6 separate regions of the Homo sapiens genome follow, and regions 1, 2, 3, 5 and 6 are each linked to region 4. Evidence: promoter capture Hi-C in 16 types of primary human blood cells and fetal thymus (Javierre and others, 2016). All regions are on one chromosome and are shown on one strand. The core of a region is centred on a gene start or on the middle of the fragment in contact, and the rest is flanking DNA. Distances in the headings are between cores, read along the strand shown.

Region 1 (3,441 bases), core at 100-2,599, 2.8 Mb before region 4:
ACATGATGAATGGTTATTGAAGCAATTAAATCCCAAAATACTTAAAAGCTTTGATTTGAAATTGCTTATTTAATATAGCCTAAACTGTTACCAACAGTCTTTATTTAGAAGATTGTCATTCACTAAATAAAAATTAGAACAGATTACACGGAACACACTTACAGAAACGAATATACACATTATAGAATATACTATTTTAGGCTGGGTGTAGTGGCTCACGCCTGTAATCCCAGCATTTTGGGAGGCTGAGGTGGGCAGATCACAAGGTCAGGAGTTCGAGACCAGCCTGGCCAACACAGTAAAATCCCATCTCTACTGAAAATACAAAAATTAGCCGGGCATGGTGGTGCTTGCCTGTAGTCCCACCTACTCGGGAGGCTGAGGCAGGAGAATCACTTGAACCCAGGAGGCAGAGGTTGCAATGAGCTGAGATCATGCCACTGCACTCCAGCCTGGGCAACAGAGCAAGACTCCAACTCAAAAAAAAAAAAAAAAAAAGAATATATTATTTTATAAGTAAATTTAAAGGCAACCATATCTAAAAATTGGTTCCTTTACTGAAGCAAACTTACATCCATCTCTAGATTTTTCTATCTGTTCTCGAAGAAATCTATCCTTGTGAAGATTTGCATCCCCAAACCAGAAGTCCACTTGCTTAGCAATATCTGCAAGCACCTGTTTAACTCGTGACCGTTTCTTTTTTTCAACTTCTTTTTTCTTTTCAGTGCTTTCTTCTTCCATTACCTTTTCCTGATTTCCACTTTCAGTTTCCATTCCTGTGAATTACAAGAAAAAGATGTAAATATTTAAATCACCACAATAGCTAATATAGTTAAATATTTAGATTAGCCTTTAACTGTCTGAGAGAATAATGGACTCACATTTGGCCATCAGAAGACAAACAGAAAGAACATTCATTTTTATATTTAATAAATTAAATTTAAAAATAATTTACCTTCTATGTTAGGGATCATAGCTTTAGTTTCTTTGTACCTTTTAAAACACAGGGCCAGATTATCCTAGAATAATATAAAAAATTACACCTTTATCTCACTAAGCTGCACTTTTAAGTCAGTAAGTGAAAAGTGTAAGATTAAGGGACGTGGACACTCTCCATCGCAACACCCCCTCCTCTCCATCGCAACACCCCCCCGCCCCCGCCCCACCCCAGAGAAGTTGTATTCGCTTTTTTTTTTTTTCTTGGAGACAGTTTCCCTTTTGTTGTGCAGGCTGGAGTGCAGTGGCGTGAACTTGGCTGACTGCAACCTCCATCTCCCGGGTTCAAGCAATTCTCCTGCCTCAGTCTCCCAAGTAGCTGGGACTACAGGCACATGCCATCATGCCCGGCTAATTTTTGTATTTGTAGTAGGAGACGGGGTTTCACCATGTTTGCCAGGTTTGTCTTGAATTGCTGTCCTGGTGATCTGCCCGCCTCCGCCTCCCAAAGTGCTAGGATTACAGACATGAGCCGCCGCGCCTGGCAATTTTGATTTTTAAAATGTTAATTTCTGCTTTCTAGGGGCAGAATTCAACTGGTAAGCTGTAGAAATCAGCCTCTTCTCTCTTCTCTTTCTTCTTCTCTTCTCTTTTCTTTGAGGCAGTCTTCCTCTGTTGCCCAGGCTGGAGTGCAGTGGCATGATCTCAGCTTACTGCAAGCTCTGCCTCCTGGGTTCAAGCGATTCTCCCTGCCTCAGCCTCCCAAGTAGCTGGGAATACAGGCACCACTGCCAATCACACCCGGCTAATTTTTGTATTTTTAGTAGAGACAGAGTTTCACCATGTTGGCCAGGCTGGTCTCGAACTCCTGACCTCAGGTGATTCGCCAGCCTCAGCCTCCCAAAGTGCTGGGATTATAGGTGTGAGCCACCGCGCCCAGCCATAAATCAGCCTTTTCAAGTGGCCTTCTCATCCCAGTGTTTATTTCTTGGGCAGCAATTTCTAACCCCCTCCTTCCTCAAGTTACTTTCAGTATCTCTTCCCCTTTGCTTTGTCAGCTCCAGCCATACAGTCCTTGCACTTCTTGAAGCTCACCCAGCAATGTCTAACGGGGTCTTTTAAACCTGTTCTCTTTGAAACACATATCCCCAGAGATAACACAGCTTGCTCTCCTACTTCAAGTGTTTATTTAAATGTCACCTCAGTGCGGTCCCCTCCCACAATCATATTTAATAATGCAAATTTCTGGATACATACACAGTAACTCCCCTGCCTTATTTTTGTTCATAGCATTTATCATCTTCTAACATTACTATCACCACTATGCAATTTATTTCTTTGTTGTTTATCCTTCCTAGATGGTAAGATCAATGAAATCAGAGATTTTTGTTTGTTTACTGATATATTGTCAGTCCCTGCCATACAGTCACTTAAAAATGTGTTGAATAAATTGTGCCTCGATTTTGTTGAATGAATTGAATCACTAGTGGTATAGGAGCAAAGGATTAATATCAGGCCTGGGATAATACAGGCTGCTTGAGAATAACCTCAGTCTCCTATAATACAGTCTTCTTGGAAACTGGAGAGACTAATGGGGGTGTTGTATCTGTTTCCCATGTTGCACCTGGTTTGGAGCAGCTATTAGATGGCATGGAGGCCTTATGCCTACGTGACCAGAACAACAGATTGATAGGCAAAAGAGGTTAAAGCTTTCACGTGTCAAAGTGTCCTAAATACACCATGGTCCTTATCTAGGGAAGGCATACATGCCTGTTGTGGGTAAATGGGAGAAAAAAGTAGTGAATTTGGGTAATTGCTAGATATGGGTAAATGGCTTGGTGGCCTCTGGTGGGATGAAGAAGCTGCATCTACCCTATCTTTTGCCTTGACTCTTCTTTGGTAAGCAGTATTTGCATCTCTTGAGTCTGACTGCTGGTTAGAATCTCTAACTGCTACAGTGATGCTGCTGATAGTAACAGAAATAGATAATGTGTTTCAAAGTGATATCCAGTAAGAGGGTACAAAGCCCTTAATGCATTTCACCTCAAATCTCCAACTAAACATGCATTCTCATCAAACTCAACAGAAGTACATTTTGGCATTTTAGGTTTCAGTAGATCAATCAAGTACCAATTTTGAAATTTTACAAGTAATGATATATTTAGGTGATGCTAGCTTAAGACATAAAACACAACTATAGGTCAGAATTAATAATAGAAAAACAATGAGGTGTCATTGAGTACCACACAACCATGTTCTTCACCTCATGCTCTTACTTCAACCCATCCTGTCAGGTTTTCCTCATCACCATTCTAGAGAAACTGCAAACAAGCTCCTCAATGTGCTCCACTGTCTACTTGACCTCTCAGCAGCAAATGCAGTTGGTAACTCCCTCCTTGAAAATATTTTCTTCATATAGCTTCCAAACGAGTCTTCTTCCTTTTCAATTCCCTTTTGCAATCTCAGTTTCTCAATTTCCTTTCACCCTACCTCTCCCACTGTGCC
Region 2 (3,519 bases), core at 563-3,062, 2.5 Mb before region 4:
CAACTCTCCTGAACTCAAGGACAGAAGACAGACAAGGGGCTTCCACTCATTTCCATCATCAGAATTTGGTTTCCCATGCGAAGAAGTAGGCCGCTGTGATCTCAGCCAAGCCAAGTTTTGTCCTCCTTCCTCTATCTATCCTCAGTCTTCTTTCTCCTTCTATGGCAAGGGTCCCCAACCTCTGGGCCATGGACTGGCAGTGGTCCATGGACTGTTAGGAACCCAGCGGCAAAGCAGGAGGTGTGCTCAGGGCCAGCAAGCGAAGCTTCATCTGTATTTACAGCTGCTAACCGTCACCTGTGTTACTGCCTGAGCTCTGTTTCCTGTCAGATCACTGGGGCATTAGATTCTTATAGGAGCAGGAACCCTGCACATGGGAGGGATCTAGGTTGCCCGCTTCTTATGAGAATCTAATGCCTGATGATCTGTCACTGTCTCCCATCACCCCCAAATGTGTCCGTCTAGTTGCATGAAAACAAGCTCAGGACTTCCACTGATTCGACATTATGGTGAGTTGTATAATTATCTCATTATATATTACAATGCAATAATAATAGAAATAAAGTGCACAATAAATGAAATGGGCTTGAATCATCCTGAAACCATCTCCCGTGGCCCCAACCCCAGTCTGTGGAAAAAGTCTTCCATGACACTGGTTCCCAACAGGGATTGCTGGTCTCTACAGTGTCTATCCTCTCTCTCTCTTTTTCTTTAAACAGAGTCTCACTCTGTTGCCCAGACTGGCGTGCAATGGCGCCATCCCGGCCTCACTGCAACCTCTGCCTCCCGGATTCAAGTGATTCTCCTGCCTCAGCCTCCCGAGTAGTTGGGATTACAGGCACCCACCACCAAGCCCAACTAACTTTTGTATTTTTAGTAGAGATGGAATTTCGTCATGTTGGCCAGGCTGGTCTCAAACTCCTGGCCTCGTGATCCGCCCACCTCGGCCTCCCAAAGTGCTGGGATTACAGGTTTGAGCCACGGCACCCGGGTCTATCCTCTCTTGACACCTACTCTCCTTAGGTTCTTCACACTTAGGTGATTCCAAATCTTTTCACTGAGGCAGAAAGGTAGCATTACCTTCTTCTAAGCTATAAAGGACTCCTGAGAGGTGTTTCCCATTTCATCATGTACCAGCTTTTACTTGTGGACTCTGGATGTCCATTACGATGCAAGCGGCAGGAGAGAAAGCGACTGGACTGCTCTGCTGGGTGTAAGGCGAGGGCAACCTGGAGCAAGTTCAAATCCCGCCTCTGCGGGAGGCAGAGGTTGCAGTGAGCCGAGATGGCGCCACTGCACTCCAGCATGGGCGACACGGTGAGACTCGTCTCAAAAAAAGAAAAAAAGAAAAAAAAAATTCCACTTCTGCTCGCCACACTCCACCATTCTCTGAGCCTCGGTTTACTCATGTGTAAGGGGGACTGCGATGATTAGAGGAGCTCGTGCATGCCACGCACTGGCTTGCTTGGTATCCTTGGAGTCACCGAAAGATTAGTTCAGCTCCCCGCCTGCCCACGCCCTGGGGCAACACTCATTTTGGGGAAAAGTCCTCCTTAATGCTGAAGTGATCCAGTTCCCTTCTTTTCTCTAGCTCGCCAATCGGGCTGGAGGAGAGGCCACTCGTTTGGGAAGGCGCGGTCCGGGTCGGTGTACCGCGCACCAAACCCTGCCAGAGAACTGAGAGAGGCGGCCAGGGGGCTGGGTACCTGGTGAGAAAGGCGCCAGCTGCCGGGTCACCTCGAGAGGAAGGAAGGGGCGGGAGCGCGAGTGGAGCGGGCGGAGCCTGAAAACCTCCGCGCCACCGCTGCGCTCTTTACAAAGGCCCCGGGCGCGAGAGGACGTGCTCTGCCAGCCAGTGGGAAGGCAGGCCGCGCGCGCGGGAGCGCGGGAGGATCGGCGGCTCGCGGTCACTGGTCCCTGGCTCGGTTCCCCGCACCCCGGGGCTCACACTTACCCGCGCGGAGGAGCAGCGGCCGGGTGTCCACCCCCATCCTGCGCCCAGTCTCCTCGATTCCCCTCGCTCTGAGCCGGGAGAGCCGAACAGCTGAAGAGAGTTCACTGACTCCCCAGCCCCAGGTACTTGCGGGGCGGCGGGCTGGGGGTGAGGTGGGGACTGGCCCTTTTCTGTTTATCCCGCAAAGACAGCAGCTTTGTCCAGGAGATTTTGGGGGTGTCGGATCGGAAGTCATCCCCCGCTGCTCCTGCTCACCTGGCACACGCTCACCATATGCTAAGGAAAGCCTGCAAAAATTATAGACAGCACCTCCCTGTTTTATAAAATATGAGAATATTTACATAAATGAGGAAACATTGGAGATGGGGGTGTGTTTTCTCTGTACTTTGGTATTCTTTTCAACGTTTTTCTAATCAGAAAACAAAAACGAATGCCATTTATGCAGTGTGGCTCCAGAGCAGTTGTGCGTGACCCCCCTCCCCCGCTTGCCAACTGCTACGGCCCCACGCTCTCGGTGGCCAAGCGAGACCTTTCTGAGGGGCCCTGGGCTCCCTGGAGTGCCGAGGTCCTTGGTCCTAGACCTGACTCCTTGCTTCAGTCTGGTTCATGAGAGAAATATAGTAATCCGTTGTTTTCTGGGACTTTCCCCAGATTTCAGATTGAAAGGTGGAATTTCCCAAATCCTCTGAAGCCAAAATCCACACTGAGCCTCACTGCGGATTTCCGCAGCCACCAGGAAGTGGGACTGGACCCCAGGTCAGGCCAGTCAAGTAGAGTGGGAGAAAGAAAATCTCATGTCTGAAAGACACCGAGCTTTCCTAAGGGTTTCCTCCTGCTGTTTGGTTTTCACTTTTTTTTTTTTTTTTTGATTCTTTGTTTTTGCAAGACCTGTGGTTTTAGTATTAATTCTGCCAAACAGCTGTGCCAGAGTTCACAAATATCTTCAGAGCCACACTTCAGGGTGATCCTGTTGAGCAGGGTTAGACAGGAGGATAACTTGGTCCTTTGCTCTGCTTCCAAGTTTCTGTTCCCCTCCTGTGTGCTCAGTGTTCGGTATTCGTTAGGGAGAAAAGCCTTGAAACTTCCTACTTGCAACCACCCAAAGACATACTCTTTCTTGAGAATATATTCAGGGGGAACTGGGGAGGCGAGGGGGTTGGGGGGAAATGAAAGTAAACATTTTCACCATCCAGAGCAGACCCCATTAGTTTGGTCAATCCTGTTTTAAAAAATAGACTTCTTAAAGCATGAGAAATCTGGTTGGCATGCATGACCACCCAGGGGTGCCAAGCTTTCTGTTAAACTGCTTAGACATCTGGGTCCTTGTAGCGAAAATATTTCTGTATATGTTTTTGTTTATGGCATTTTAAGGCCGAACACCCTTTGGCAAGGAGAGGTGGTATGTCTCTTCACGGGCTTTGCAGGACCTTAGTGAGTGTGTGTGTACGTGTGTGTGTGTGTGTGTGTGTGTTGTGTTGCAGGGAGGGTAGCAGAGGTGGAGGTGCTGTTTTTGCACATAGCACCTCTACACGTATCCATTCTTCTTTCCCCAGAGAGGAGTCAGA
Region 3 (3,739 bases), core at 970-3,469, 2.4 Mb before region 4:
GCGCCTGCAGTCCCAGCTACTCAGGAGGCTGAGGCAGGAGAATGGCGTGAACCCGGGAGGCGAAGGTTGCAGTGAGCCGAGATCGCGCGCCACTGCACTCCAGCCTGGGCGACAGAGCGAGACTCCGTCTCAAAAAAAAAGAAAGAAATACTCCACCTGCTTATGTTTTTATGGCATATCTACAGACAATTAACACTCACGCTGATTCATGGATTTCCTCCTGCCACCTCCCTGTGCTGCCAAGCTCACGAGCTGAGGGAGTAGAACCTACAATTTTAATGCCGTACTCTACGGAGACCCCATGAAAAAAACAAAACTAAAGTCCACAGACACATCATGTAGTCCAAAGTCAAATATAAAGTTTTTTGCTTATCCATTTAGAATGTAAGTACTGCTCCCTCACCAACCAACTTTCTTGGAGTTAGAATTTAACGCCCTGTAACACAACTACAAATAATAGTAAAAGCCAAAGATTGTGTGGCATCTAGTTATTGGGCAAGCCTACTTAAGCAGCTTGACCTTGTAAGTTTCATTCACACACAAAAATTATAAATACTTAAACCAGATGATCCTGGATGACAAGATAAAACAACTGTCATGTCCCACTCAAGAGTAATAACTCATAAATTAGGGAAATCGAAATATTACACTAGGCACAAACTGCAAATCCTTGCCCTTCCATTCTAGGGATACTTAGTGTAAAACCTTAGCTATTTTGTATCAGAGAGGTGACACAATGCCTAATTAATGAATGAGAATCCTATATTTTATAAGATCTCCATTACCAAAGATTCAAATTATGATCATTTACTGCAATTTATTTATGTTGAACATCTTATTACCCAATAATGTTAGTTAAATGGAACAGATTATGAAAAATTAGCAATCTGTTTCAGAAAGTGCAAAACAGTCTTAGTCCTTACACAAACTGGCTTGGTTCAGATTTTCAATTCTAGGTTTGAATTCCGGAGGGACATTTAATAACAACAAAGCCAACCCCAAAGGAATTTGCTCTAATTTTTTCAATATATATGAAATAAAAAAACACAAAAACGGAATTATGAAATTACTATTCTGTGGATGGTGCATATACAAAACCTAAGCAATATCCCAGGTTTACTCAAGAGAAGTGAAGTTCAGAAGGACTGCAATTTACCTAATGTTACAGGACGTTTGAGTAGCAATCAGGGCAAGGAATTCCTCTCGAAATTTCAAAAACTTAATACGAAAAAATTACACATTGTCCCTGTAGTTATGAGCACCAAGAATCTGAATGCCCATTGGGAACTCTGCAATTCAGCAAGTCTTTGTAGCTACCAGAGTTCATCAGTATCTGGAACCTTATTTTACTCCAGCATCCAAATGACTTCTACTTAAAATCAATCTGAGGCATTAACTCCGGAGCCAGATCCCACCTGCTCTGCCAGGGCTAAAGAGAGGGTCAGATACAGGGATACTAGCTTTGGCGTTAAACCTAAGCTCAGCGCAGGGTGTGTCCAGGTTGCCGTGGAGCCGGTCCTACAGCCCATTAGCGCGAAGCTACCCCTTGTTTCCTGGAGATGATGTCTCCCGTGACTCCTTCCCCGCGTGACAGGGCGCCCTGGCAGGAGGGACACCCCGCCCCCTCTTCTACCTCTTTCCGAGGAGGCCCCAAGACCGGACCCCAGACTGGGCCTCCAAGACGACCACCAGTCTGACGTCTGCTAAGCAGTGAGTGTAGCAGGGCTCTCGACCGCCACCTCCAGCCGCCGGGGGACGGTGAAAGGGATTCCCCGCCGGGGGCCGAAGAGGAGGAGCCACGGGGGCCGGGCCCCTCCCCCAGCGGGCTTACCCTCCGCCGCCGCCTACTCGCTGCAGCCGCCCCGCTTCCTTGCGAAGCAGTCCGAAGCACTGCGTCCAGCAGCAGTTCCCCATCGCATGCCGCCCAGGCGCCGCCGCTCCTCCTCCTCCTCCCGCTCAATGCCCAAACCCAGGCCCGGCAGCTGCATCCGCACGGCACGAGCCGAAATGGGGTTCAAGGACCGAGGGCGGGCCGGCCAGAGCCCGGCGGCGTGAGGGCACGGGGCGACGAAAGACGAGGCGCTAGGGAACAAAGGCAGTGTTTACTCCAGCGGCCGCAGAGCCACCGCTGCGCGAGGGAGGAGCACCGGGCTCAAGGCTCTGGACTCCCTCGCCGTCCGCATGGCCCTTCTCGCCTCAGCTCCTAGCCCAGCGTGAGTGACCGCCTCCAGCTGCCGAAGGAGGCCAGTCCCCGCGAGCCGAGCACCCTGGCCCCGCCCCCAGCGCGCCCAGGCCCCTGCTCGCCGCCAACGCTGCCACACCCCCGGCCTCTCCCGCGCCCCAATTGGGCGCGCTACCTCGGTGCCCCGCCTTCTCTGGCGACCGGCCTGTGCGTCACTTCCGCTCGCTCCTGGTTCAGCCGCCTCTGCCTGCGAGACGGTTCAATTCCTGCGTGCGGACGTTTGTTTTGTTGGACCTTGACCTGACTAGGAAATTTCCCTCTCTCATTGCAGTTTCGGGCATCCTCGTCCGGAGCACGCTGGGCGTGGCATGGCTAAGGCTCAGCCTTCGAACTTTGTATCAAAGGCGTGTGAGGAGCCAGAGTCCCAGGCCGGAAGTCATAAGTGCGAAGGGGCGTTTCTCTGCACGGTGTGCTTAGTTTTTGTTAATACTGCACCATAAGCGGAAAATAGACTCGGGAACTGATTGAGGTTACTTTGAACGCACCAAGATTTTTTTCCGGTCTCTGGTTTGTGTCTTAATTTCCATACTGTTAATGTTTTAGGGAAACGTAATAATGGTGCATTATTGTCCTCGTTTTGTTTGAAAATCAGATCTTCACATAATTTTGGGTTGGGTAGTTGGGGTTCAGAGGAAATTGGCAAGAGGGCTGGGGTTTTTCGGGGACGTCAGCGTTGCCATTCCAAGCATGCTGCCCAGAACTGCTGTAGATGGGAAGAGAAAGCTGCTCTAATGTGTCCGCAGCCCTCTCAAGTGCTACCATATAATTCGCGTCTTGTTTGGCCTCAAGACAGTTGGCCTCACAATAGATATAAGATGTGGTTTAGTAGACACCTCGTCCAGTGGATAGGAGGATGCTCTCATGGACTGGACACATCAAGTTTTTAGCCTGTTTAATTAAACCTAGAAAAATTGTTACATTTTAGAAAGTTTTTATTGATGATAAAATGTTCTCTGAACTCATTTTCTTGCTTCTTTAAATACGTATCTGGTTTCAATCTTAGCACTGCTACTTACTAATGTTTATTTTATTTGGGTTTTAGTTGTTTTGTAATCAGAAGCATAGGATAACATTTGTCCCAATGGTTTGCTTTCAGTGAATGTTGGGATGACCGAATGACTTCCTAGTGAAAGCATTTTCTTTTCTCCTTCCAACCCCTGAAATTAGACAAATGTATTAATGAAATAATCATTAAAATTCAACTATAAATGTTTACAGAAACTGGTACATCTATCCTATGGAATATTTAGTAACAAATAGGAACACAGTATTGATGAACACACCCTGAAATGAATCTGTAGGAAATTATGGTTAAAGAAAAAGCCAATCTCAAATGCTTATATACTGTGTAATTCCATTATGTAACATCTCAGAATTGATAAATTTATGTAAGTGGACAACAGAATAATTGATTGCCATGGGTCAGGGAATGGAAATCCTGCATCTTGTCTATATTAATGTCAGTATTCTGGTTGTGATATTGCAATAGTTTTGTAA
Region 4 (3,283 bases), core at 43-2,542:
CCTCTCTCCTCTTTAATGTAGTAAGTTTCACTTTCTGTGACTTCCATTCCCATCTCATTGTTAATTACTCTAAAACTACCCTAAATAGGTGTTTTTCTAGATTTCCTCTCTGGCAGTTTCCCTCTCAAGCAAATTGTTTTCTCACTTATCTACTTTTGAGTAGTAACAGAAAGCATGGGCTTTGGAGTCAGAATACTTGGCTTTGTATTTCTTTCTTTTCTGTACAGACAGGGTCTCCTGCTTTATTATCCAGGCTGGTCTCTAACTCCCGGCTTCAAAAGATCCTCCCGTCTTAGCTTCCCAAAGTGTTGGGATTACAGGCGTGAGCCACCGCACCCAGCCTGTATTTCAGCTATATCACTAATTGATCACTTATCACTAACCTTATGACCCCAGCAAAAAAACTTAACTCTAAATCATAGTTTTCTCATCTGTAAAATCGGGGAATTAGGCATAAGTACTCACGATTACCTATTTAATATCTTCCTGTCAACCCTCAAGTTCCACCTCCAAGATGCATTCTAAGTATCCCTCAGCTTTCTTGATCTCCCCACTCCACCCTTACATGCTACATTCTCCACACAGGCTTGTGTATCCCAAACTTGCTGCCTAACAACACAAACCCCCAACCCACACCTACTCCTTCAAATAAGCTAAATACTGAAGACTGCATACAGACTACACGTTCTGGAGGTCCTTGGTCTTGGCCTTTGTTAAAGCCTCCGCGGCCACCCCCTCGTCCAAATCCTCCCCTGCCGCCGCCTCTGAAATTGCCGCCGCCTCCACCGCCGCCTCCACCTCGGAAGTGGTTGCTGCTGCCACCTCGGTTGAAGCCGCCACCTCCACCACCTCGATTAAAGCCTCCACGACCTCCGCCTCGAAAAGACATTCTCTCTCCTCCCTGATGAAAAAAAAACGACCTATGTCTTCTGATCACTGTAGCCTCTGAGTATACTCCAACCCCTCGGAGCTGCGGTGAGAACACCATAAAGGAGACAAAAGCAGCCCTGTCACCTCACCCACGGTCAGACAGCCAGTGACCACCAACCTGATGGGTGAAGAGTTTACTTCTCCATGGTCTCGTGAGCGCCGACCGACCACACACCACCCTTGCCGCCCCATGATTAGTATCTCCTCCCCCTACAGACAGCAAGGTCTTCGCACCGCATCCCCTTCCTTCCTCCCTCCCTCCGGCAGTTGGGTTCCACGTCCAGCATTTTCAAATCCTCCGGCTTCTACGGCCACTCACCGGCGCCACGTGCCCCTCTGGCCCTGGCCTTGCGCACACACCCACCCGCGGGGTACTTCCGCCGCGCTGGAACCTCCTCGGTTACCGTACCGCCACAGAGTTTTTTAAAGACCAGAAACTTGAATAACTGGTTTGCCAAAAAAAAAAGCCAATCACCCGCGGAACAAGCAACACTGGTTCCAAAACAGCCTTTAGCGCTGGAAAAGTGGCAATAATAGATAACCTTAACCACTAATTTACAACAGAGAGGCCAACTTGCCTGACGCTGAGCCGTGGAAGTGACGTATAACAGCGGCGTCCTTTGCAGCACGACGTCCCGGAAGTGCTGCGGCAATGTTGCTCTTGGAGATAGCTGGCGTTAGGGATCCGCCTTCTCTCCCAGAGGCGGGGCAGGTTTCTGTTTGGTTGCCGCCCTAACGGCCAGAACTAAAGCACCTTGCAAGGAATGAAGTTGGTTCTTGAAGTCCGTGCTGACTGGCTGGGCGCATTTGCGCATTTGCTTCTCTGGCTGCAAAATGGCCCGCAACAGCACTCACTAATTTGTTGCTAACTTCAGGAACTGTGCGGACAGGTCTCTGAGGCTTCTGAGCCGCGCTATGTCCAGTAGATCTGGGCGCCTCAGAACCTGTCACAGCCGACGGAAGCGTTTATCTGAGTTTCTTGTTTCTTCCCAACCTTTTGATTTTCGCACCATTACGCGCTCAACTATGCCTCTTCTTTTGTCCTATGGTCTCAACTAATTAAAGGAAGAAAAGCAATGCATGTGTGTGTGTAATTTTAAAGAAACTATGCTGTCTTATAGAAAACCAAACCATCATTTTTATCTTTTGTACCAGGTATTCAAGTATGTTTTGAGCACCGACGGGCTGTGAACTGGACTGTGCTGAAAGCTCCTCTCCCTCTTCTCTCTTTAAGCCCTTTATATTTGACATCAGCTTCCCCCACATTCTCCAAAGCTTCTCTCACAAATAAAGGTAATGACTTCCCATTTATTAAATTTGGTTGGAGTCTTTTACACCCAAACCCTCTGAGACCTTACCTTGATATTTGATCTCGTGTTTAGAAGAGGGTGGAACTTGGTACCTATCTAATTCAGAGGGTTATTGTAAATGGGATTTTAAAATACCTTTGTAGGCGGGGCGTGGTGGCTCACGCCTGTAATCCCAGCACTTTGGGAGGCCAAGGCAGATGGATCACTTGAGATCAGGAGTTCGAGACCAGCCTGGCCAATACGGTGAAACCCCTTCTCTACTAAAAATACAAAAATCAGCCGGGCATGGTGGCACACGCCTGTAATCGCAGCTACTCGGGAGGCTGAGGCAGGAGAATCGCTTGAACCCGGGAGGCGGAGGTTGCCGTGAGCCGAGATCACGCCACTGCACTCCAGCCTGGACGACAGAGCAAGGCTTGGTCTCAAAACAAACAAAAAACAAAATAAGTGAGAGAGGAAACTTTACTTGTTCTTTTTCTTTTAGTTTAGTAAATGCTGCAATTTGATTTTAACGAATGTTGGTCTTTTTATGGGCCTATATAAGTGTATTATTTTTGAAACAAAAAATGAAAATTACCTATTTAGTATGAAACCTTTGCTTATCTTTTGCTGTGTATTTGCTCAATTCTGAATTGAACTTGAGATTGTCACACACAGATTGCATTTTCAACTGAAATGAGATGATTTTTGTCTTTACTCTTAAAACTTAGTGAGAAAAAGCTTGCTTGAACAAGAAGTTTTAAAGTATGTCAAAATGTTTATTACTTTCTTAAAAATGTCAAGCTGCTCTTCTTTCTCAGAAATCCAAAACTTGTAGAAGCACAGATCAGGCCAGGTGCTGTGGCTGACGCCTGTAATCCCAGCATTTTGGGAGGCTGAGGCAGGCAGATCACCTGTGGTCAGGAGTTCAAGACCAGCCTGGCCAACATGGTGAAACCCTGTCTCTACTAAAAATACAAAACTTAGCCGGGCGTGGTGGCGGGCGCCTGTAATCCTAGCTATTTGGGAGGCTGAGGCAGGAGAATCGCTTGAACCCGGGAGGC
Region 5 (3,311 bases), core at 484-2,983, 2.1 Mb after region 4:
CCATTGACCCAGGCTGTAAGACCATTTCTGTGGACCCAGGTTCCAGGCCAGCACCCATATGCTGAGCATCTAGGTCAGCTCCCATGGCTTCAGGGCAGGTCCTGTGATTCTAGGTAGGCTTCAGACCAACCACTGTAGACCTAGGCTTCCACATCCGCTCCAGCACCAGCTGAGCTCTGCCTACCTGCTGACCCAGATACCAGGCCAGCCTCCCTGAGGACTCCAGCAGCAAGCCTGCCTGTGCACCATGCCAGATGGCCTTCCCAGATTGGACAGGCTGACTGGTGAAGTGCTTCCCAAATAAAGCCAGTCTACAAAGACTGGAATCAGTCCCTACCTCTTCATTGTACAGATATTGATATAAGACAACAAGAAATGTGAAAAAACAAGGAGACTTAATACTACCAAAAGTATCAAAATAACCTTCCAGTAGCTGATTCAAAAGAAATGGAGATACATGAACTGCCTGAAAAAGAATTAAAAAATAATTGTTTAAGGAAGCCCAGCAAACCTCAATAAAATAGAAATAATTCAGTGTATTCTGGAAAACAACAAATGACCAACATGAGAAATTTAACAGATTGAAATTATTAAAAAAATAAAAAATTCTAGAGCTGAAAAATTTAATGAATAAAATGAAAAATGCAATAGAGAGCATCCATAGAAGCACTGATCAAGCAAAATAATTGTACTTGAAGACAGATTTCTTCCATAGTTAGAGGAGGAAAAAGAAGAATGAAAAGTAATGGAGAAAGCTTACAGGATTTATAGGACAGCATCAAAAGTACAAAAATTGAGGTATAGGAGTTCAAGGAGAAGAGAAAGAGGGTTACAAAGCTTATTTAAATAACAACAGAAAACTTTCCAAATCTGGGGAAAGGTATAAATAAGTACAGGAAGATCAAAAGTTCTAATCAGATTCAATCCAAACAAGACTACCTCAAGACATATAGTTAAACTGTCAAAAATAAAAGAGGATTCTGAAAGCAGCTAGAGAAAAGCAAATCACATACAAGGGAGTTCCAAAAATGCTAGCAGCAGACTTTTCAGCAGAAATTTTGTAGTCCAGGAGAGACTGGGTTGACATGTTCAAAGTGTTGAAGGAAAAAAACCCTGCCAACAAAGAATACTGTATTCAACAATGCTGTAATTCACAAACACAAACATACAGACTTGCCTAGACAAAGCTAAGGGAGTTCATCACTACCAGACATGTCTTAAAAGAAACACTAAAGGGAGTTCTCCAAGCTGAAATAAAAGGATGCTAATTAGTAACATGAAAGTATAAAACTCACTGGTAAAAGTAAGTCCACGGTCAAGTTCAGAATAAATACTGTAATTGTCGTGTGACAATAATTTATATCTCCGGTATGAATGTTAAAAGACAATTAACAATAGTGACAATAATTTGTTAAGGGATGTCTTCACTGTTGAGTTCTACCAAACATTTAAAGAAAGATTAATGCCAGTCTGTATTAGTTCGTTTTCACACTGGTATAAAGAACTCTCTAAGACCAGGTAAACTATAAAGAAAAGAGGTTTAATTGACTGACAGTTCTGCATGACTGGGGACGCCCCAGGAAACTTATAATCATGGCGGAAGGTGAAGAGGAAGCAGGGCACATCTTACATGGTGGCAGGAGAGAGAGAACAAGGGGGGAAGTGCCACACTTTGGAACTATCAAATCTTGTGAGAACTCACTATCACGAGAGCAGCATGGGTGAAAGCACCCCCATGATCTGATCACCTCCTACCATGTCGCTCCCTCCACACATGGAGATTACAGTTCGAGATGAGATTTGTGTGGGGACACATAGCCAAACCATATCACGATTTTTTCTCAAACTCTTCCAAAAAATTAAAGAGGGAATACTTCCAAATTTATTTTATGAGGCCAGCATTACCTTGATACCAAAGCCACAAAAGGACACTAGAAGAAAAGAAAATCACAGGCCAGTGTCCCTGATGAACATAGATGCGAAAATCCTGAACACATAGTAGCAAACTGAATTATATAGCACATTAAAGGATCATTCCTCCTTATCAAGTGGGATTTATTTCAGGGATGCAAAGATGGTTCAACATAGGCAATTTTTTCTTTTTTTTTTTGAGGTGGAGTTTTGCTCTTGTCACCCAGGCTCGAGTGCAATGGCATGATCTTGGCTCACTGCAACCTCCGCCTCCTGGGTTCAAGCAATTCTCCTGCCTCAGCCTTCTGAGTAGCTGGGACTACAGGTGCATGCCACCATTCCCGGCTAATTTTTGTATTTTTAGTAGAGACGGGGTTTCTCCACATTGGCCTGGCTGGTCTCAAACCCCTGACCTCAGGTGATCCGCCTGCCTCGGCCTCTGAAGTGCTGGGATTAGTGGTGTGAGCCACCATGCCCAGCTAACATATGCAAATTAATAAAGGTGATGCACCACACTAACAGAATGTAGGGCAAAAAACCTATGATCATCTCAATAGATGCAGAAAAATTATTTGAAAGAGTTCATTAACCTTTTATGATAAAAACTCTCAACAAATTAGGAAAAGAAGGAATGTACTTCAACGTAATAAGGGCTACATAGTTCAAGCCCACAACTGACATCATACTCAATGGTAAAACAGGAAAAGTTGAAAGCTTTCCCTCTAAGATCAGGAGCACAACAAGGGTGCCCACTCTTACCACTTCTATTCAGCATAGTACTGGAGGTCCTAGACAGAGCACTTAGACGAGAAATAAATAAAAGGCATCCAAATTGGAAAAGTAGAAGTTAAATTGTTCCTGTTTGCAGATGACGTGGTTTTAAATAATATGGAAAACCCTAAAGATTTCACCAGAAGACTGTTAGAATAAATAAATTTAGTAAAGTTGCAGAATACAAACTCAACATTAGAAAAGTAGTAGTGTTTTTATATTCTAACATTGAAGTACCTGTAAAAGAAATAAGAAAACAATCTCATTTATAGTTGCTACCAGAAAAATAAAATACTTGGGAATACATTTAACCAAGGAAGTAAGAGACCTGTATACTGAAAACTGTGAAACATTGATGAAAAAAATTGAAGACAGAAATAAAAGGAAACATTGTATGTATTCATGGATTGAAAGAATTAATATTGTTAAAATGTCCATACTACTTAAAGTGATCTACAGATTCAATGCAATCCCTATAAAAATTCCAAGGATTCTTCACAGAAATAGAAAAAGCAGTTCTAAAATTTGTATGGAACCACAAAAGACCCCAGATAACCAAAGCAATCTTGAGCAAAGATAACAAAGCGGGAGGTATTAACATTACGTAACTTTAAAACACACTCTGAAGC
Region 6 (3,269 bases), core at 599-3,098, 2.3 Mb before region 4:
CCTCCTTTCTTAAGTGACTTGATTTTAACCAGGCATCCTTTGTCAATCGCCCTACCTGGAAAGACTCAGGCCAGAATGACAGAAGAACCTTCATTTTTTGCTCAAATGGAGTAGCATCTAAAGACAAATTGTTAAAAATGATGCAGACAATATCTTAACTAGTAATAAAACACCTATGTTAATACTAGGTGTTTTATATATTTCATATATATATGAAATAAGTAACAAAATAAAGATACATTTTGTTCTGGTATTGTAATAACAAGCTGATGAAAGAGCTTTCCAGGTTGAGGAAAAGGAATGAACCTTTCAGACAGAAGTGGAAAGAAAAATCAGTGAAGGAAGGGATGTATGTGGACGAGGATTTAGCTTGAGAAATAGCCCAAGAAAGAAACCTCCATCAAATTATTAGGAAAGGGCAAACTCTGTGAGGGGAATAGAAATAGAAAGGGACTTAATACAGAAAATTAGGTGTTGACAAAATCATTGAAAGAGCTAGAGGAGCACAAGTCAGGTGCCTCTGGAGCTATGGTGTTCAAGAGCATACAACCATAGCTCTTTTCTGGGTTAAAAGGAGCGCCTCTGCTAGCTCCTGCCTCTAATTTCCTCTCAATACCCATGAGGCTATCCATGACTCCGGAACACGAAGTGAGCGTGCCAAGTAGAAAAGACGGCAGGAAGATGGCCTCTGTCTCATTTCCAGCTAATTAGTTTTGGTTCTGTTCCTGTTTATATCATTGTTTTCATGGAAAAGTTCACCTTAAGTTCTAAATCATTAACTTAGAAACCAATCTTTCAAAAATATTCCATTTGTAATCTGGAGTCCTTGTATCCTTAAACCAACCAACAGGACAAACAAAAATCATCTCCCTAAATAAAAACTAAATAAAATGAGTCCTTGGGATATGTTCCATAGTTGTTAATTTCATTTCTTCCTCAAATATCTTTACACATGTAATACTATTTCTACCATCATTACATGGCAATGCATAATTTCATTTACAGAACTTGAAAAAAACTAGAAAACAAGGCTTTGTGATAACATTACCAAGAAACGTTTTATCAGAAAAGCTTGCTTTTTACAACAATGGGTTGGGTTGCACCAATTTTTTGCTTATTTTTGTCTTCTTGACTAATTCTTCTTTGGTGCTAATGTAGTAGGAAATGCCTATCTCCGGTGTGATTTTCAATTATTGTGTATGGGGGCTTAGAATACATTAATAAATCTTGAGGCAAAAACAGAATGATAAAAATAACACTTCAAAGGAGTACAGGAGAATGAACTTTCATGACATTCAATGAAGGAGGCAGGTATGCAAAGTGATATGTTTTCTAAGATGTACTTTTCATTTTTTGTTTTATCCTTTTACTTTGTACCATAAGCAATTTTGGAAAGACCACAACTATTAGTGATGTCTACATAATCATACTAATGAAGTACACAGAAGCTTAAATGAAGTATTTTTATATGCTCCCTTACAACTATTTGAAAATTTACTTTGGAAACCCCTGCTCAAATGCAACCCCTCCCCACCCCCAAAGGAATTCTTGTGCTGTCTTCTTCACTTTTCCAGTTAAGCAATTTAAGTTAGAGGAAATCAAGCCCTTGAGCAAATGAATAGTTAACGGGAAAAACCACTAGGAAGGGAATCCGAAGAACAAGCTACCAAATTATTTGCTTGAGTCACTTTCTCTTATATTGTCACAGATGAAAAATTACACTCCACGTGGTGATCAAACCTAACGCTAAGGCATATTTTGTGTGCCACACAGTATTACTCTGTTTCCTAAGTAACCTATTGAAACAATGTAAGGTATACATCTATTAATGCATTTAGTGATGATACTGGAATTTGTGAAACGTGACAGAAAGGACAGATGAAGAAAGATGAGGAGAGACAGGTATTAATTGTCCTAACAGTACAGGCTGTAATAAAGGCCAATAATCATTTGAATTCCTGCTCCTTAATGTGAGTCTAAAGAGCGGCTTACCTCAGGTATTTGGAAAGTCTAAATACTGTATTTGCTGTAGAAAATTCATCCAACATACAATTCAATTTTTAAAATTAAACCTTTTGCCTAATCTTTAAGATATTTGATGTTATAATGCCCATTATCACACTTTATTTAAATGAGATAAACTCAGAGAGTTTAAAAAATTACGCAACTTCTCTTTTCCCTTACTATGGCTGGCCTCTTATAACCGAAAGCAATATTCTTGCCTCTCCACTTTTTAACTGAAGCTTTGATCTCATCTGTATTTATGAAGAACGTGCTCTGGGAGAGTCCCTGTCAAGACATTCATTGTAACACCCGCTCCTACTCATGCTTTCAGCGCTGCCCGTGGACGGAATCCACCCACACCTTCCAGACACGCTAGGTGTGGGCTCGGAAACGCAAGATGGAGGGCGGGAGGGGAGCCGGCGTCTCCTAAACCTGGCGCAGGGCACGGACTCGAAGTTGAAAAAGAAGTGTTTACAAGTGAGGCTTTTAAATAAATCACCGCTATGGAGGGCATTTCCTCCGAGCCCTGGGCGCCAGCCTGAGAATCCTCTGCCGGACGCCAGGGGACGAACCACGCTGACCCCGCCAGACACGCGACCCCGGGGCCGGCGCTGGCGTCTGCACTCGCGCGACCCCGCCGCTCCTCCTGGGAGCGCCGTCTAACCGCTCCCGGCGACGACTTCCCAGAGCGCCGGGGAGCCAGTGCCCACGCGGGGCAGAGCTGCGGCGCGGCCCGCGGGCCGGGCCCCTTCCCTCCAACGCCGGGCGGGGCTCGCGGCCCCCGACCCGGCCGCTTCGCCGCCGCCCCTCCCCGCGCTCACCTGCTCGCTCTCCTTCGGCCGCTGTCCGCGCCGCCGCGGGCTCGCCCCGGGATCCCACCCGGTCCCTGCCGCCTCCCGCTCCGCCAGCGCGTCCCCGTCCTCGTCGCGTTCCCCGCCGTCGCCGCCCCGCAGCAGCTCCCCGGCTGAGCACATCCCGCAGCCAACTCCTACCGCCCCGGACAGCCGCCGGAGGACCACGCCGCGACGCACCAGGCAGCGCCGCCGCCCGAAGGCTGCCCTGGGATCCGCCGCACCCGCCGCTGACAGGAGCCGCCGGAGCGCGCCCCGCCGGCCTGGGCGCCTGAAGTACCAGCCCGGCCCCTCCTGTCACTGGCTCGCCCAACCCCCGGCCGTCGGGGCGGAGCCGTACAGGGGAGGGGCCAAGACAGGGGGCGGGGCCAACGGTGTGTTGGGGGGCGGGGGTGTGTGTGTGAGATTGAGAGA

Evidence for each region. Contacts are between HindIII fragments. The CHiCAGO score rates a contact against its expected background, and 5 or more counts as called.
Region 1: a fragment that was not itself captured here is called in contact with the fragment with the promoter of GAR1 in region 4 in 1 of 17 cell types (total B cells); the score reaches 6.6 in total B cells.
Region 2: a contact is called between the fragment with the promoter of TIFA here and the fragment with the promoter of GAR1 in region 4, in 2 of 17 cell types (non-activated CD4 T cells and total B cells). The highest score is 6.2, in non-activated CD4 T cells.
Region 3: a contact is called between the fragment with the promoter of AP1AR here and the fragment with the promoter of GAR1 in region 4, in 1 of 17 cell types (total B cells). The highest score is 7.5, in total B cells.
Region 5: a fragment that was not itself captured here is called in contact with the fragment with the promoter of GAR1 in region 4 in 1 of 17 cell types (fetal thymus); the score reaches 6.3 in fetal thymus.
Region 6: a contact is called between a fragment that was not itself captured here and the fragment with the promoter of GAR1 in region 4, in 2 of 17 cell types (total B cells and naive B cells). The highest score is 5.7, in total B cells.

Annotation. Positions count from the first base shown.
Region 1 is chr4:112,642,003-112,645,443 of GRCh38, reverse strand. LARP7 (La ribonucleoprotein 7, transcriptional regulator) reads right to left here. Exons shown (of 13, transcript NM_016648.4): 2 at 573-776. The coding sequence starts at 774. Among named protein-coding and RNA genes, the nearest start is that of MIR367, 4.2 kb to the left of the region's middle. RefSeq lists a silencer at 1,638-1,739. The HindIII fragment of the contact is 2,597 bases long and covers 51-2,647 here.
Region 2 is chr4:112,284,197-112,287,715 of GRCh38, reverse strand. TIFA (TRAF interacting protein with forkhead associated domain) reads left to right here and starts at 1,812. Exons shown (of 2, transcript NM_052864.3): 1 at 1,812-2,076. RefSeq lists enhancers at 81-200, 2,710-2,829, 2,860-3,039 and a silencer at 1,760-2,069. The HindIII fragment of the contact is 2,980 bases long and covers 268-3,247 here.
Region 3 is chr4:112,230,267-112,234,005 of GRCh38, reverse strand. AP1AR (adaptor related protein complex 1 associated regulatory protein) reads right to left here and starts at 2,219. Exons shown (of 10, transcript NM_018569.6): 1 at 1,832-2,219. The coding sequence starts at 1,914. AP1AR-DT (AP1AR divergent transcript) reads left to right here and starts at 1,856. Exons shown (of 1, transcript NR_186684.1): 1 at 1,856-3,739. RefSeq lists enhancers at 1,425-1,474, 1,499-2,446 and silencers at 1,685-1,954, 2,115-2,394. The HindIII fragment of the contact is 11,290 bases long and covers 1-3,739 here.
Region 4 is chr4:109,813,771-109,817,053 of GRCh38, reverse strand. GAR1 (GAR1 ribonucleoprotein) reads right to left here and starts at 1,292. Exons shown (of 7, transcript NM_018983.4): 1 at 1,250-1,292; 2 at 676-901. The coding sequence starts at 889. It overlaps GAR1-DT (GAR1 divergent transcript), which reads left to right and starts at 1,672. Exons shown (of 2, transcript NR_186620.1): 1 at 1,672-2,223. RefSeq lists enhancers at 547-616, 787-836, 1,187-1,236, 1,247-1,646, 1,817-1,916. The HindIII fragment of the contact is 3,017 bases long and covers 1-2,207 here.
Region 5 is chr4:107,703,751-107,707,061 of GRCh38, reverse strand. All of the region lies in intron 1 of PAPSS1 (3'-phosphoadenosine 5'-phosphosulfate synthase 1), which reads left to right. Among named protein-coding and RNA genes, the nearest start is that of PAPSS1, 15 kb to the left of the region's middle. RefSeq lists a silencer at 2,005-2,169. The HindIII fragment of the contact is 1,788 bases long and covers 840-2,627 here.
Region 6 is chr4:112,145,290-112,148,558 of GRCh38, reverse strand. It overlaps FAM241A (family with sequence similarity 241 member A), which reads right to left and starts at 3,105. Exons shown (of 2, transcript NM_152400.3): 1 at 2,826-3,105. The coding sequence starts at 2,978. RefSeq lists an enhancer at 2,195-2,334 and a silencer at 2,675-3,269. The HindIII fragment of the contact is 795 bases long and covers 1,451-2,245 here.